Linked DNA regions of Homo sapiens: region 1 is linked to region 2. The links are contacts of gene promoters, found by promoter capture Hi-C in human tissues and cell types (Jung and others, 2019). All regions are on one chromosome and are shown on one strand. The core of a region is centred on a gene start or on the middle of the fragment in contact, and the rest is flanking DNA. Distances in the headings are between cores, read along the strand shown.

Evidence for each region. Contacts are between HindIII fragments. The study calls those that stand out against the background at their distance.
Region 1: a fragment that was not itself captured here is called in contact with the fragment with the promoter of PLEKHM3 in region 2 in 1 of the 25 tissues and cell types used here (H1 embryonic stem cells).

The regions. Positions count from the first base shown.
Region 1 is chr2:207,800,471-207,803,853 of GRCh38, forward strand. No RefSeq gene overlaps it. Among named protein-coding and RNA genes, the nearest start is that of FZD5, 32 kb to the left of the region's middle. RefSeq lists enhancers at 1,225-1,726, 1,727-2,226. The HindIII fragment of the contact is 9,526 bases long and covers 1-3,383 here.
Region 2 is chr2:208,024,181-208,027,410 of GRCh38, forward strand. PLEKHM3 (pleckstrin homology domain containing M3) reads right to left here and starts at 1,347. Exons shown (of 8, transcript NM_001080475.3): 1 at 1,209-1,347. The HindIII fragment of the contact is 4,894 bases long and covers 1-2,658 here.

The sequences.
Region 1 (3,383 bases), core at 359-2,858, 220 kb before region 2:
CTAGACCAGCCTGACCAACATGGCGAAACCCCGTCTCTACTAAAAGTACAAAATTAGCTGGGCGTGGTGGTGCATGCCTGTAGTCCCAGCTACTAGGGAGGCTGAGGCAGGAGAATCACTTGAACCCAGGAGGCAGAGGTTGCAGTGAGCCGAGATTGTGCCACTACACTCCAGCCTGGTGACAGAGAGAGACCCTGTCTCAAAAAAAAAAAAAAAAAAAAAAATATTACCGGGCGTGGTGGCACGTGCCTGTAAATCCCAGCTACTGGGGAGGCTGAGGCAGGATAATCGCTTGAACCTGGGAGGTAGAGGTTGCAGTGAGCCAAGATCATGCCATTGCACTCCAGCCTGGGTGACGGAGCAAGACTCTTATCTCAAAAAAAAAAAAAAAAAAAAATCTGAGATGGGGTCCAGCGATCTGTGTTTCAACAAGCTCCCCCCAGCTGATTCTGATACACACTCAAGCTTGAGAAACACTGGTTTAGATGAAACAAGATTCACCATGAGTTGATAGTTGTTGAGGCTGGTGACAGGTACATGGGGTGGGGAGTTCACATGTGTTTTTGAAATTTTCTATAATAAAAAGTTAAAAGAAATGATTAAGCACATTGGAAGGGAGGAGTGTACATATAATGGGGGAAGGGTCATTGCTGGAGGACCTCTGGATATAGAGTGAGACAAAACAGATTCTTGTGCATGCATCTGTGTTGCCTTTTGAATTAAACATCCAGGATAATGGTTGCATTAGCTCCTGCCTTTAACAGGAAGCTCTGCTCCCCCACCCCGCCCCCCACCAACCCCAGTTCCTCAGGTTTCTCTTCATTTGGAGCCTAAGTTTTAACAGGATTAGATCCTGGAGCCTCAAATCTCTTAGAGAAGCAGCGATTTGAATTTTCAGCTTCCACCTGAAACTGTGTCACTGTAAAATATGCCACCCACTAGACCTGCTTTATCAGCTGCAGACATGATGCAATTAACTAATTTTCTGCAACCTCTCACCACACAAGCCGTGGAACTTCTAGTCCATTGTGTGGCTCGTTTACTTAGCAGATAGGGTCTAAGAGCCTGTAACTATTTACCTCCCTCTAGAGGGGCTGTCCCAGACAGGTGAATTCATTAGTTGGTGTTTGTAAAGCAGCAGGAAAACCAAAAAAGCATTAGGCAAGTTTTTATTTTTATTTCTTTATTTGGCCTGAACGCCACTCAAGCGATGTCCTGTCCTGTCCTGCGTTGTCAGTTTGCCTCCCTTCATATCCACCCCCTCTTCTCTCTAGCCCATTTTTCTCTTATTCAGAAATGAGAGATGCCCACAACTGGAAAACTCTTCCCATTTTGTCCCAGAGGATGCAAAGTTCTGCCTGCCCATCACATGGGATCAGCGATCTTTAGGTTTTTTCATTTAAATGCCAAGGCATCTCTGCTTCCTGTTTCAGGTGTCCTTCTGCCCCATCTTTGAGCAGTGGTCTTTTCTTTCTTTTCTTCTTTCCCCACTTCCATTTTCTCTCCTCTCTCTTTTTTTTTTGAGACAAAGTCTCGCTCTGTTGCCCAGGATGGAGTGCAATGGCACCATCTCGGCTCATTGCAACCTCCACCTCCTGGGTTCAAGTGATTCTCCTGCCTCAGCCTCCTGAGTAACTGGGGTTACAGGCAGGCACCAAAACGCTAGGCTAATTTTTGTATTTTTAGTAGAGACAGGGCTTCACCATGTTGGCCAGGCTGGTCTCGAGCCCCCCGACCTCAGATGATCCACCTGCCTCAGCCTCCCAAAGTGTTGGGATTACAGGTGTGAGTCACCACGCCCGGCCTCACTTGGTTGTTTTTTTTTTTTTTTTTGAGACGGAGCTTCACTCTTGTTGCCCAGGCTGGAGTTCAATGGCGCAATCTCGTCTCACTGCAACCTCCACCTTCCAGGTTCAAGCAATTCTCCTGCCTCAGCCTCCCAAGTAGCTGGGATTACAGGCATGTACCACACCCCTGGCTAATTTTTTGTATTTTTAGTAGAGACAGTGTTTCACCATTTTGGCCAGGCTGGTTTCGAACTCTTGACCTCAGGTGACCCACCCGCCTCAGCCTCCCAAAGTGCTGAGATTACAGGCATGAGCCACTGAGCCCCAGCTCCCTTGTATTTTTCATAGAAAAGGCACAAGGAAGAAGTTCAATGATGAGAAGGAAGAAAGAATATTCCTCAAGTGTAATTAAAGGTAGGAAAAATGACAGTTCTTTTGGAATCCAAGTTTGAAAATATTTCTTTTTAATGTGGTAGGATAAAACAAAGCATAACAGTAAATTGACCGTTTAACCATTGTTAGGTGATAGTTCAGTGGCTAAGTACATTCACACTGCTGTGCAACCGTCGTCATCAGCACTTCCAGAACGTTTTCGTCATCCCATACTGAACTCTGTACTCATTAAACGTGGAATCCCCATTTCCCCTCCCCACCCCTGGCAATCACCACTCACTTTCTATTACATCTCTGTGAATTTGACTACTCTAGGTACCTCATATAACTGGAAACCTACAGTATTTGTTTTTTTGTGTCTAGCTTAGTTTAGCATAATGTCTTCAAGGTTCATTCCTATTGTAGCATATGTCCAAATTTCATTCCTTTTTAAGGCTGAATAATATATATATATTATAATTATATATGATGTATAATGTATACACATCATACATATATGTATGCATAATATATACACAACATACATATATGTATGCATAATATATACACAACATACATATATGCATACATAATATATATACACCATATTTTGTTTATCCATTCATCTGTTGATGAACATTTGGGTTATTTCTTTTTTTTTTTTGAGACAGAGTTTTGTGCTCTTGTTGCCCAGGTTGGACTGCAATGGCACGATCTCGGCTCACCGCAACCTCTGCCTCGTGGGTTCAAGCGATTCTCCTGCCTCAGCCTCCCCAGTAGCTGGAATTACAGGCATGTGCCACCACGCCTGGCTAATTTTTTTGTATTTTTAGTAGAGACGGGTTTCTCCATGTTGGTCAGGGTGATCTCGAACTCCCGACCTCTGGTGATCCGCCTGCCTCGGCCTCCCAAAGTGCTGGGATTACGGGCGTGAGCCACCGCGCCCAGCCCATTTGGGTTATTTCTGTCTTTTGGCTAGCGCGAGTAATGCTGCTATAAGCATTGGTGTGCAAATAACTGAGTCCCTGCTTTTAATTCTTTAGGGTATATACTCAGAAGTGGAATTGCTGGATCATGTGGTAATTCTATGTTAACTTTTTAACTATGTACTGCAAAATATTCCATTGTATTTTTCACATATTTTTGGCAATTTAAGTTCTGTTTTCTTTTTTTTGTTTTTGTTTTTTGTTTTTTGAGACTGAGTCTCGCTCTGTCCCCCAGGCT
Region 2 (3,230 bases), core at 97-2,596:
ATAACAATAATAAAAACCCTAATGAGGTCAATACTATTATTATTCCCATTCTACAGATTAGGAAACAGAAGCGCTAAGTAAACTGCCCAAGATTACACAACTAGGAAGTGACCAAGCAGGAATTCAAACTGAAGTAGTCTGGCTTTATAGTTTTTGCTATAAACCATGACATTGTAAAAATATTCATTGTAAAGAAAAACTCATCAGGAATTAGTATCATTTCTTCTATGTATATCTATCTATTGTAGGTGCAATTTAACCTAATATTCATCTCCTGTCTAAAAGACTATGTGACCAAGGTTACAAATGTCTACTGATATTTTTAGAGACTAGATATATAGCCCAGCTTTTGTTAAGGCATTTTCTTGAAGTCAGTCAGTCAAAAACTGCCTTGTATTTTAAGTATGCCAATTATAATTTACATGTAGTATTTTATAATAAAATACTTTATAAATACAAATCACAACTCACTACGATTACTTAAAATATAGAGAAAAAAATTCAGCTGTTTCTCTCTGGTCCCTTCCAAGGAAGAAAAAAGAAGAGAGAAATAAACTTCTAAATAAGTTTACAACAGCATGGCTCAATCTCAGTTTAACCTGGTAAATTCAAATTTGTCTTGCTTTGCAAGGTATACATCCAGACCAGTCTCAATTTGTCATCCAAATATATATCTCAGTAGTAATTTATTTTTGTTTAAGGGATGAGTGTGAGATTTTCTTATCTTGATTTTTTAGCTTAATAATTCTTTCCTACAAGACCAAACCATGCTTGTCATCAGTCATGTGGTGTCATTTACTATACATTAAAAACGGACAGAGTCGACAGAAAGAACAATCGTTTTCTGGAAGCCCCAGCCTGATGTAGGTTAAAAGCTCTGCTGGGGTTTGGTTTTATAATCCCCAGGCGGGGATGGCAGGGATACTAATAACGCACTCAACAAGATCACCTACTATTTCAACTACTTTCTCCTCCTATTACATACCTGATTCACAAAAATAAGCAGACAATGCATCATGTAATCTCCCCTCACCCATTAGCCATTGCAGTGTGGTACAATCTCCAGCACGTAATAAAAACCTGAGCATGCAAGAAACAGCAAAATCACTGCTATCCCTGGGAGCTGCTCGGATATTTACAATGCAGTCGTCCCCACCCCATCCCCCAAACTGGCCGGCCAGGCAGCACAGAAGCAGACGGATGCTCACCTGGGCCCCGGCTGCTACTCTCCATTCACCTGCGGGGCCTTCAGTCCGCTCCTGGAGGGGCTTGACTCCCGCAGCCTGCCGCCCGCCTCACGGTGACAGCCCGCCCGGGCGCTGACCATCCCGGCCCGGCTCTGTTTACAAGCGGCTTCTCGCGGTCCCACTCTGAAATGCTTCCGCCGGCGGCCCGGGCAGCCAGAGCCGGACACACAAGGTTCCAGGCCGCGAGGACGAGTCTTTCCTGCCCGAGGGACCCGGCAGCTAGGCAAGGCCTGACCGCACCCGCCAGGCCTCCTTATTTCTTTGCTTTCTTATATACAGTTCCTCTTGTACACATTGTGAAAGCAATGGCGTGTGTCGTGGAGTCTCCTCACTGCTCCACCCAACGCCAAAATGGGTGTTTGCGATTGGAAAATGTCACTTAGAACATGTCAGGATCGGGCTGGTTTTTAGCAGCTCCCTTGTCTAAGGGAATTAATTACTCAAATAAGTTCTTTCCAAAAGTGGGACTATTCTGGAGATTGCTTCTCATTTCCGGTTTTGGGGCTGCAGTGAAAATCCGTTTTCACTGTCCTTTCCTACGCAGGTTGAAAAGGGGTGGTTTTGAGGTGAGGTCTTCACCCCCACTTGCGGATTCCCAGCAAAATAGGGTGTGCGTGTGTGTGCACGCGGGCAGGACTGCCTGGTAAGACCGCCCACATCCCACCTGCAGTGACTGTGGTCGCTTTGCAGGGATATGCTGGTCTGATTGGACAGACCTTCCTTGCAGTTTCCTGTCTGTTTTCCATCATAGCACACTTCTTAGCCATTTTCTCACTTTATAAGTACACACTTATTTATCAGTTTTATTGGTTTTCCCACGCTCACCCATCTCACCTATAAACTCCCTGAGGGCAGGCACTATTTCAGTTTCACTCACCACCATCTAGTAGGCACCTAGCACAGGCCCAATGTATATATATCTGAATAAATGAATGAACAAAGGAATGATAAAAAAAAAAAAAGGTCAAAGGGGTCAGGGATGAAACAGAAATCTAAAACTCTGATTCCTCTTCCCACCTTCCCACCCTCCAGAAGATTAATAAGCAAATCTTTAAGCTTTGAGTTAAGAAAAAATTTCCTTTGGTTGATATTCAAAGTTTAAATAAGCTTTCTTTAAACCCTGCAATTTGAGGTACTTTTTTTTCTGTTTTGCTAGAGACAGGATCTCACTCTGTGCCCCGGCCAGAGTGCAGTCGCACGATCATAGCTCACTGCAGCCCTGAACTCCTGGGTTCAAGGGATCCCCCCAACTCAGCCTCCTGAGTAGCTAGGACTACAGGCACGCATCACCACAACGTGGCTAACTTCTTTTTTCTTTCTTTCTCTTTTTTTTTTTTTTGTAAAGGCAAGGTCTCCCTGTGTTGCCCAGGATGATCCTGAACTCCTGGCCTCAGGCAATCCTTCTTCCTTGCCTTCCAAAGTGCTGGGATTACAGGTGTGAGCCACCTCACCTGGCCAGAGGTACATTTTTTGTTTTGTTTTGTTTTAATTACCAAAAGAGAATATTTGCAGTATTCTCTTTTGCCTCAGGACTTTGTACATGTGATTCCCTCTGATGAGAGTTCTCACTCCTGGCCCATCCTCTTACTTAGGCTGGCTAATTTCTCTTTGCTCTTTAAGAAGCAGGTAACAGGTGCTTGGTCTCTCAAGTCACTTGCTTGGTCTTCTTCCAAGTGTTCTTTTCTTCTTTTCCTTCCCTTCATTACTACTCTAAAGCTTTTTAATAAACTTTCACTCTAAAAAAAAAAAAAAAAAAGGCCGGGTGTGGTAGCTCGTGCCTGTAATCCACGCACTTAGGGAGGCCAAGGCGGGTGGATCGCTGGAGGCCAGCGGTTCGAGACCAGACTGACCAACATGATAAAACCTCATCTCTACTAAAAATACAAAAATTAGCAGAGCATGGCGGTGCACGCCTGTAATCCCAGCACTTTGGGAGGTCGAGGCGGGTGGATTGATTGAGGCCAGCAGTTCGAGACCAGCCTG